Regions from separate parts of the Homo sapiens genome. Here region 1 is linked to region 2. Evidence: promoter capture Hi-C in human tissues and cell types (Jung and others, 2019). All regions are on one chromosome and are shown on one strand. The core of a region is centred on a gene start or on the middle of the fragment in contact, and the rest is flanking DNA. Distances in the headings are between cores, read along the strand shown.

Region 1 (5,335 bases), core at 762-3,261, 53 kb after region 2:
GCCTAGGGTTTTCATTTACTTTGGATAAAATACTTCATCGCTCTGAGGCTTATTTTTTTGTAAAATGGGAAACAGAGTAATTCCTGCTTTACCTATTATAAAGGCTGCATGTGTCCCCCCCCACATTCACATGTTGAAGTCCTAACCCCAAGTACCTCAGAGTGTGCCTTTACTTACTAATGGGGTCATTGTGAGAGGTGAAGCCAGCTGGACTTCCTAGGTCGAGTGGGGGACTTGGAAAACTTTTCTGTCTGAAGGATTGTAAATGCACCAATCAGCACTCTGTAAAAATGCACCAATCAGCACTCTGTATTTAGCTAAAGGATTGTAAACGCACGGATCAGCACTCTGTAAAATGGACCAATCAGCAGGATGTGGGTGAGGCCAAATAAGGGAATAAAAGCTGGGCACCCCAGACAGCAGCGGCAAACTCCTCCGGTCCCCTTCCATGCTGTGGAAGCTTTGTTCTTTCGCTCTTCACAGTAAATCTTGCTGCTGCTCCCTCTTTGGGTCTGCACTACCTTTATGAGCTGTAACACTTACCGTGAAGGACCGCAGCTTCATTCCTGAAGTCAGAGAGACCAGAACCCACAGGGAGGAGCAAACAACTCCGGAACAAACAACTCCGGACGCGCCACCTTTAAGAGCTGTAACACTCACCGCGAGGTCAGCGGCTTCATTCTTGAAGTCAGCAAGACCATGAACCCACCAGAAGGAATAAATTCCGGACACAATTGCAGATGTAGTTAGTTAAGGTCATACCAGAGTAGGGTAGTGGTTAATTCCTAATCCAATATGGCTGGTGTCCTTATAAAAAGGGGAAATTTGGACACAGATGAACACACACACACACACACACACACAACACCATGTAAAGATGAAAGCAGAGATCTACAACTCAAGGAACACCAAAGGTTGCCAGCAAAACTCCAGAATCTGGGAGAGAGATGCAATGGATTCTCTTTCACTGCTCTCACAGGTAACAAATCCTGCAGACATGTCCATCCTGGCCTCCAGCCTCTAGAGCTGAGAGATAATACATTTCCATTTCTAAGCCACCTGGTTTTCAGTACTTTGTTACAACAGCACTAGCAAACTAATACAAAAAGGTTGTTTCAGGATCAAATTAGATAATAAATGTGGCATTATTCAGAAAGGGCTATTCATACACTACTTTTTACTATAAATAAATTTTACTTATAAACTATTGCTGTAAGTTTATTATTAAAAGCTGTGACTTTTACGGGAGGGGACCTGAACAGCGACACTGAACAGATACCTGGGCCCTTGCCAAGAAGAGGGGGGACAATGGAAGTTGTGCATTTCGGCCAAAGCTCCTGAGCCCCTCCATCACACCAGGCCCACGTTTCCCTCGCTGTGAAAACAACCCTGCCATCTGTCACCAAATTCCCTATCAGGGCAGGAATCACCGTGAGGTTTGTTCTGAGCTAGTATTCCCTTGGGAAACAATTCAACTTCCAGAGCCTTGGAAAGAGAAGCAGGAACTACCAGAGCAGCTAAATTAATTCTTGCCTATTGCTTATTAATTTTTTAGAAAGATGAAAAAAATATTTCACTTCAGGGGTTCTTACATTGCTTTCTGATCTTTGCTTTCCCCTCAATGGTTTCCAATAACTATGCTGCAGGAAATTTTTAATGCAAAACTATGTCTTCTAACCACTGCATTGGGATTCACAGTGTACTTTTGGTACCCACTCATTACAAAAGGGCCCAAATAAAAATCAATGCTTTTGGAGGACTTGCTCATTCAGTAAACATTTATTAAGTACTTACTATGTGAAAGACATAGTGCTAGTCAATATGAAAGAAATGGAGAGATGATATAAACAAGGTCCCTGCCCTCAAGAAGCTTATAGTTAAACTGACGTGACATACACACAAACCTTTGTAATAATCTGAGGCAGAATGTGATCAGGGCTTTAGTAAAGAAATGAACAGGCCAGGCGCGGTGACTCACGGCTGTAATCCCAGCACTTTGGGAGGCCGAGGCGGGCGGATTACCTGAGGTCAGGAGTTCAAGACCAGCCCGGCCAACATGGTGAAACCCTGTCTCTACTAAAGATACAAAAATTAGCTGGGCGTGGTGGCAAGTGCCTGTAATCCCAGCTACTCGGGAGGCTGGGGCAGGAGAATTGCTTGAGCCCGGGAGGTGGAGATTACAATGAGCCAAGATCTAGGGAGGTAGGAAGAATTTAAACCCAGGGGAAACAGAGATAATCAAAGTGCATTTCCATGAACAAATTTCAAAGAAAGTGAAGAAAAAGGCTTTATTCAGAAATATATTGAGCTGATCCATGCTGTTACACACTCTCTGTCCAAGGCAGAAACACACAGAAAAGGTATTATTTCTGCTGCACTGGGGGTGCAGGGGGTCAGGATCTAAGCATTGCACTTTAGTGCTCTGGGCTGTGGGCTGGGAAGGTGCTTTCAGAGGCTGCAGAACCCAGAGCCTTCCAGGTGAAGGAGCAGCTTTGCAGCCTGGAATTCTGTCTCCATTCCTGAGGAGGGCCTGGTTCGATTCCCTCACATGCCTGCTTCAGCTGCTGCTGCCTTCTGCAGCATGTGAAAGAAATTGGGCCTTTGTTAAAACATATGCACATTCCTGAAAAGCCTCACATTCACAATAAAGGTAACAGGCCTTATGGGGGAAAATAGGCTTAAAGGCAGAGCGCTCGAAACCTATGCGACTTTGTAATTAGTCTACTAACAGAAACAATAACTAGTACCTCGGGAGATAACTTAGACAGACAAGGCAGGCACTCAGTAGGGCCAGAAACTACTTCAGGGGATATAAAAAATGCACAGATATAATAAAATAAACACTCCCGCTGCTGGGTGCTGTGAGCCGGCGTGGTCGCTGTGAAGCGGATGTGCAGCCTAGGACACGCAAGGGTAGGATGTACTTCTCTGGAGAGGGAGCCCCGTGTGCAGATGTTCATTCAAAAAAATTCTTTTTCATAAAATAAAAATAGAACTGAAAGCCATGCTAAGCTTTTCCCACTGAAGTTCTCATTCTATTCTGCTATTTCAACTCTCCTTGCTTTGAAAGAAAAGGCATGTGAACCAACACAACGTCCATGTTGTCCTGCCATCATTCCCGTTTTGCAACCACACATGAGCTCATTGATGCTATAGAAACATATACTGCAGCGGACAGGCTGTATTACTGTATCACACACCAAAAAATAAACCAGAAGAGAGATACCTATCTCTCTCTCTCTCTCTCTTTTTTTTTTTTTTTGAGATGGAGTTTCACTCTGTTGCCCAGGCTGGAGTGCACTGGCATGATCTCAGTTCACTGCAACCTCCGCCTCCCAGGTTCAAGCGATTCTCCCGTCTCAGCTTCCCGAGTAGCTGGGATTACAGGCACGTGCCACCACGCCCGGCTAATTTTTTATTTTTAGTAGAGACAGGGTTTCACCATGTTGGCCAGGCTGGTCTTGAACTCCTGACCTCAGGTGATCCACCTGCCTCGGCCTCCCAAAGTGCTGGGATTACAGGTGTGAGCCACCATGCCTGGCCAGAGACACCTATCTCTTAAACAACCTTTCATTTATCAGAGGTCCATGGCATGGCATAACAAGAGCCGATGCTTATCAGGCATAATGCCTCATTATATTGTTTCTCATTCAACCCTACAGCAACCCCATGAGGTAAGTACTACTCTCATTACCTTTTTACATGTGGGGAAACTGAGGCTTAGCTTAAGTAACAGATGAAGCTGTCACAGCTGGAAGGTGGGAATGTCAGGTCTCAATTTGAGGGTGTATGACTTACAGACTTGAGGTCTTAACTACATGCTATACTTCTAGAAAAAGTGGCAGGAGGCCTCATGTTTGGAAGGCTCCTGTCACCTCCTCGAGCACCTTTTCTAAAAACAAGAGCTTTCTGGATCTGCTACACAGTGTGGAAAGCTCAAAATGCTCAGTCTGGAAAACATAAAATGCTTTTTGTTTTATTCAAACATGAATGGTTTCTATGTTCTCGAGTTTCTGCCTCCTTCTCAAATACTAACAGAACTGGGAGATACCACATTCCTTATAGATCATTAGTTTAGCTCCACTCGTGTGATTGATAAATGTTTAAAACCCTGAAAACTAGATTAGTTTTGCAAATGTGTGATTTATTTGAATATACCAAGGAGGATATTTGAGTAAATCAAGTTGCAGCAAACATATTACATTGTTCACAAACCAACGAGGTGACTAGGTTTATAAAGAATGCTGAAATTAAAGACATTTACTTCAGCCTATCCAAAGAGGAGATTAAGGCTGAGTGTGGTGGCTCATGCTTGTAATCCCAGCACTTTGGGAGGCCCAGGAGGGCAGAGCACTTGAGGTCAGGAATTTGAGACCAGCCTGGCCAACATGGTGAAAGCCCGTCTCTACTAAAAATGCAAAAATTAGCCGAGCGTGGTGGTGTGCATGCGTAGTCCCAGCTACTCGGGAGGCTGAGGCAGGATAATCGTTTGAACCCAGGAGGCGAAGGCTGCTGTGAGCCGAGATCGTGCCATTGCACTCCAGCCTGGGCAACAGAGCAAGACTCCATTTCAAAAAAACCAAAAAAACAAAAAAGGAAAAAGAAGATTAAAAGCGGGAAAGGAAATTTCTTTATGGGGAAAAAGTATTTCCTATAAAGGGGAAAAGGAATTATTTTAAATGCTATGTGGAATAAAGCATTGGGCTTCAAGGTAAAACTAACCATTTCCTAGATATTGATTAGCATAGGTTTCAGGTTTCTGAGAAGCTTAGATTGTTGTCTACTCCAGTTTTTGCTTTGCTGAAGAATTCAAGGTGTAGAGTATGTTTCCTGGCCTCTACCCCTCTCCCTGTATCTCTTTATACTGGTAAAGTCAAGGCTGGCTTTGGTCCAGGAAACCGAGAGCAGAAGCATCAGGAATGGTGAGTGCAGGCTTGAGGAGAACTTTGCAATGAGGAGGAGTCATTATGTGGGGCTTGAGGGGTGTGTGTGGAAGAGACAGGACATCCTTTCTGGGCAGCCCCTGCTCCATCAACATGGCAGCAGATGGCCAGGCTTTGTATTTGGGAAAGGAATTTTGGGGAATTGCATATAAGAGACTTGGCTGCTGTTGAGTATCAGGTTGAAGCATCCTCTTTTCTTTCTAGCTACCCCCAAGAATCACAGCACAGTTTAGTGGATTCTTCCAAAGCACAGGACCCAGAATTAAATCATGACCTGGGTCCCAACACTGTAAAACTAGGGTAATATGGCTGGCAGAAAGATTTCATCTTGTATGCCAACAATCATTTGAATGACTGGTAGTGGTGGCTTAGAATATTGTGTTGAAAAAGAC
Region 2 (5,637 bases), core at 2,182-4,681:
TGCAGCTGCAGGGAATTTTCCTTCTGGGCCCGTATGTCTTCCAGCTGCTTCAGCAGCTTGTCCCGATGCTCCTCAATGGCCTTAATGTAGCCCTCCGAGAATGTCCGGACATCAGCTGCCACTGCCTCCACTCGCTTCTGGAGGGCACTGTTTATTATGTGGATCTGAGCCAGGGCTTCCTCCAGGGCCTCCACGTGGGGCTGAGTACCTTTGAGGAGCTCCCACACAGAGTCCCCATGCTTGTGGATGACATTGCTGGTGAAGTCACAGGGGTGTTCCCGATGCTCCCCCACCACACAATCCTGGCACACGGGCCGGTCACAGAACTCACAGAACAGCCTCAGTTCCTCTGCAGGGTGAACAGGACACAGGATGGGCTTCCCAATCCGGCTGTAGCCTTTCAAGTCTTTTAGGTCCACCATGGTGTGGTAAGTCGTTTTCTTCTGCCGCCTAGGGGCAAACAGAATCAGTAACAGGAAATAAGGGGATAATTCTGTTGGGAATAGTTGGGCAGAGAGATTTTAGGAGCACAGGATCTGAAGTTAAACAAACCTGATTTCAATTCCTTGCTCTAATCTCTAATTGCATGAACCTCTCTGATTCCAGTTTCTCATCTGTACAGTGGGGACAATACCTACCTGAAAGAGCTGTTGTATAGAATAACGTGTGAACAGACTAGGGCTCTGGCTGGCTACATGCCTATGCAGAAGGTTGCAAGACTATGACTGCATGCTAGAACTTTCCCAAAGAGTTTAGACAAGAGTCACAGTCGGCTTCCTAAGGTAAGCTAGCAGTGAGGGCATGGCAGAAAACCAGCATCAAGAAACAGAAACCATGCCAGATAACACAGCAATAAAGTCCAAGCAATTAAAAAGCAGACACCAAGTCTCATCTAGCTTGCATCTAAGATTTTGGTGAAGCATTTCTGTTGACCTGTATCACCCAAATCAGCAGGCTAGAATTTTTTTCAAGAGACATCGTCAACATCATTAGAAAGCGTGAAACCGGCCGGGCGCGGTGGCTCACGCCTGTAACCCCAGCATTTTGGGAGGCTGAGGTGGGCGGATCAACTGAGGTCAGGAGTTTGAGACCAGCCTGGCCAACATGGTGAAACCCTGTCTCTACTAAAAATACAAAAAATTAGCCAGGCGTGGTGGCATGTGCCTGTAATCCCAGCTACTGGGGAGGCTGAGGCAGGAGAATCGCTTGAACCTAGGAGGTGGAGGTTGCAGTGAGTGGAGATTGTGTTATTGCACTCCAGCCTGGGCGACTAGAGCCAGACTCCATCTCAGAAAAAAAAAAAAAGAGAAAAGAAAGTGTGAAACCAATGGTTAGTAGAATCAAAGCTCTCTTTCTAATTCCTTTCCTATAGTAGCCCTCTAGAGATGTAGGGAAATCCTTAGGAAAACATGGTGACTGTTCAGAGTTCCTCCATTAGCATTGTATCAATTTGAAGCTTATATGCCTATTCTGGCACCAGAAGAGTGGCTGCAGAGAAAATAGGGTTAGCTGGTTTGGCTGGCAGCAAGACAGTCGCAGGGACTATCACATAATTACAAGTTAAAAATAGAGTGAAGTCTACAAACTTGTTCTGTTAGTGTAGCCAGAAAACAAATGGAAGTAGAACCCGAAACCTATTTTAGGCTAATCCTAAAACTGTGGTCATTTTATATTCTGGTGTCCTAGGATGGGGTAAGGTAAGAGTACGAAGGGACAAAAGTGATCCATCTGACAAACTATTCACCAAATGCCATAAAACACATAGTCTGCACCCCAATTAACACCTACCAGCCCACCTCACCAAGCTCCAGAGTAACTCTAAGGTACACAAAGCAAAAGCTGAGGTCCGGCCAATCATCATCACCTATTCTAGGAGCACAGCATGGGTTACTGGAATGTAGTCAAAATGATCTGGATTTAATACTCAGTTCTGTTACACACTTACCAACTGTAGGACCTTGGCAAATCACATAATATTGCTGAGCTTGTTTCCCCAATTAATAAATGGGGGCGAAAACAGGGCCTGCTTTTCTGTAAGAGTTGCAAGATCGAAGGAGATCAAGAACAGGATCTATGCTGTTATATTCATTCTCCTGTTTCTCCAGCACCCAGTACAATTATTCACTACACGAATGACTGAAGGAAACTGTAGCTGCACTTTGTAAATTGAAAGGGTTTATTGCTATTGCTATATTAGGCTATATATTAGGTACTATATTAGGCTAACCGGGTTAACTGTTGTACTGGAGTATTTGCTATTGCATTGTTATATTGCTCTTTGACCTTCCACGGTATTTGAGAAGGCTTTCCTTTTCATCTGCTCACCGAGGGATTTGTCTTGACACCTCTTTGTAATCTGCTCTTAAGCTACACCTGATGGAGTGTCCCATCTTTACCTATGAGCCTGGCAGCAGAAGTGGCAGAGGTTGGCTTTGCAGGTCTGACACCTCTTCTCTACTTCCCTGTCGTTGCACAGGTCACACACCAGGCCCTGGCCTTCCCCACGTAGGCTCTCCAGCATCACATCATTCACGGCCAGGTGGTCTATGGTTAAAGCCTTCACTCCACCCATGGGCAGGTCCACCTGAGCATCACATACAGGACAAAGGATGCCGATCTGCGACTGCAGACTTCGTGGCTTGAGTTCCTGGAATATTGACCCCTCAGAGCTTGTGTCAGAGTCTCCCCCTCGGATGTCCACTACTGAGAAGGGCTCCAGCTGCTCCAGACACGTGGTGCAAACTGTATGCAAACAAGGCAAGAGCCTGGGGGCTTTGAAAAGCCCCAAGCACAGGGGGCAGTGAGTCTTGCCTGAGTTCCCAAGTGCAGTCCCACTAGTGAGTTTGCTTACAAAGCCCAGCAGCGGTTTTCTGTTTTCTGACATACTCCTCACGTTTGTGACCAATATTAGAAAGGGCCCTGGGCAGTTCTACGATTTAGTAGCAGGTGATTAAGCCCACCCAAAGAGAAAGTCTCCAGAACTTGAACAGAGACCATGGGGACTCCCTCGCTGACAAATAAAAGGGCAGACGGGAAGACGAGGCGTCCTCGAAGGAATCACCCACAGATCTACTCAGGAGGGCCCCCTCCTTTCCACTGCATCCCACACCAGACACGCCCACGCCCTCCTCTGCCCCGCAAGTCCTCCCCGGATGCGCTTCCAGGTCTAGCTCTCCAGCTAGTCCTGCTGCCAACAAAGTCACCCCTGCACCTCTCGCTCCCTCCACTGCCACCCCCCTCCCGCCGCCCGCCCCACTGCGCGCCACACGCGACAAGCGCCGACCCCACCCGCGCACGATGAGGTAGGGGCCCTCTTGCTCCTTCCCTCTGCGAAAGGCGCGCGCCGGGTGAGGGAATTGCAAGCCGCCGGCGGGCTTCTCGGTGTCCACCGCCTCTCCCGCGCCTCGGCCCGGGACGCCCGCGGGCTCTGGCCCCTCCTCACACCAATCCCAGCCCGGTCTACTCCGGCGAGTCCAATCACCGTCCGAGAGCGGCGGCCCTCGCCGCTCCGGGCCCCGCCGCCCTCCAGAGTGACGCCACTAAGCATCCAATAAGTTTTGGAAATTCCACATCTTCGCCAGTCCACTCACGCGGGGGGCGGGACCTGACAAGGCCGTGGGCGGGGCGGCCGAAGGGCTTAGAGTGCGGCGGGAGGAAAAGGCCAAGGCTCGGAGCGAGCGGCATAGTGTAGTCAGCGTCACCGTTTCACAGGGACTGTCCCTCTCTCTGTGGTGACCAGAGAGGCCTCAGGACCTCTTAAAAAGCCACGCTGATTTGGCGCCGGGACGGCCTTCTTTCTGCCCTCGGACTCGTCCCACGAACGCAGACTGGGTTCTCCCATTGGTGGATGGCACTGTCAGTTGGCTCTGCGCTGGGAGTGGGAGACGTTTTTCGGGCTCCCGAGGTCTCGGCCGCTCGGGGGCGCCAGACGTTTCTCCTCCACGCGGGTTTGAGGCTGCGAGGCTCCCCTCTGTCCTCAGGCGCTTACTGTAGCTCACAGGTCCCTCAGGCCTAGCGTGCTGGGTACAAGCACTCCCGCGGCTCCCCGACTTTGGGTATTTTTCGGGGGTGAGGGCATCTCAGGCTCGCGTTACGGGGACCGGTTCGGGAGACCGTGGAGCCGAGGTGTCGAATGGAGGGCTTACTTCGGCCGGGCCAGGGAGCGCCACCCTCCTTGTCGGGCTCGGGAAGGCTTTGTTTTCCGGTCCGGGGGGAGTGCAGATGACCTAAGGAGTTGAATGTCACCCGGGATTCCACAGTCCTGTGTAACAGAAACGAGCTGAGCGAGTTGGACCCGCTGTTTTTATCAGTCAATCACGGAGGGCTCCTGCCTGGTCACAGTGAGACAATGGACGGTGGCAATGAGGGACAAGCCCTTTGTGGGCTTAAAACTAATTGGGAAGATGAACACGTCCGACCCCTTTAACTTTATAATTACACGGCCACCTTCTCTGGCCTTACCAGGCGTCTCCTGATTCTCCAAAATTCCAAAAATGGAAACAGCTGCTCCTTTCCCCTCCACCTGTTGTTATCTCCAGTTGCGTCAGCTTGTCTACTGGGCCCTCACTGCTTTCTTTGTTCATGACCTTCCCTACTTAATTTGTACCCAGTGGGCGACTGTTTCACTTGATTCCTTCATTATCTGTTTCATGCTATAGGCATAGTGTCTGGAGCCTAAGCTTTTAAAAGTATGGAATCTGAAAAAAAGTTAACCCCAAAATATGAAAAAAAAAAAAAAAACCATTATAAAATATAAAAATGAAATGTTTGGCCATTTCCAAAATATAACACGCCAATGAGTCAAATGCCACCTTTATATAAAATGTGCAAGTAATTTCCAAATGTTAAGCATATCTCCAAAGATTTTTAAATAGTCCTTACCTAGATTTTTTTCAGCCTCTTGTCCTTCTTGCATCTACTCTCAAAATCGGCATTCGCCTCTCCAGTAGGCTGGAGGAAGTCACAAAAACTGTGTGGACTTGGGTTTGCTATATATTCTTGCTTTGAACTTCACCTTTACCCTCCCTGCTGCTTGGCTGTGCTTTACTTCATCTCTTGTTCATACTGTATCACATTTCTTGTGGTAGTAGTTTCAAGCTTCTCTTGTTTCAGAAGTACTTCATAATTTACACGTGCAATATCTCATTTAGCAGTATCTCATTTAACCTTTAACAATATTGTAAGGAAATGGCCTCAAAGAGGTCTTGCCAGGTCTTGGATGGCCAGCCCAAGTTAACATATCTGGAACTTGAACACAACCTTATGATGCCATATCTAAGATTATATTCGGGCTACCTCTACCTTTCCCTTTTTTTTTTTTTCTTTTTTTGAGATTGAGTTTTGCTCTTGTTGCCTAGGCCGGAATGCAATGGCAGGATCTCGGCACACTGCAACCTCCACCTCCAGGGTTCAAGCGATTCTCCTGCCTCAGCCTCCCAGGTAGCTGGAATTACAGGCATGCACCACCACACCTGGCTAATTTTTTGTATTTTTAGTAGAGACTGGATTTCACCATGTTGGGCAGGCTCCTCTCGAACTCCTGACCTCAGGTGATCCACCCGCCTCGGCCTCCCAAAGCGCTGGGATTACAGGCGTGAGCCACCGCGCCTGGCCACCTCTACCTTTCCTTTCTCAGTT

What was found. Contacts are between HindIII fragments. The study calls those that stand out against the background at their distance.
Region 1: a fragment that was not itself captured here is called in contact with the fragment with the promoter of TRIM45 in region 2 in 1 of the 25 tissues and cell types used here (pancreas).

What each region holds. Positions count from the first base shown.
Region 1 is chr1:117,172,527-117,177,861 of GRCh38, forward strand. The region is part of intron 1 of VTCN1 (V-set domain containing T cell activation inhibitor 1); the gene reads right to left. Among named protein-coding and RNA genes, the nearest start is that of VTCN1, 36 kb to the right of the region's middle. RefSeq lists an enhancer at 1-151. The HindIII fragment of the contact is 3,755 bases long and covers 135-3,889 here.
Region 2 is chr1:117,118,318-117,123,954 of GRCh38, forward strand. TRIM45 (tripartite motif containing 45) reads right to left here and starts at 3,432. Exons shown (of 6, transcript NM_025188.4): 1 at 2,397-3,432; 2 at 1-450. The coding sequence starts at 2,884. RefSeq lists a silencer at 3,197-3,386 and an enhancer at 3,697-3,866. The HindIII fragment of the contact is 5,274 bases long and covers 1-4,888 here.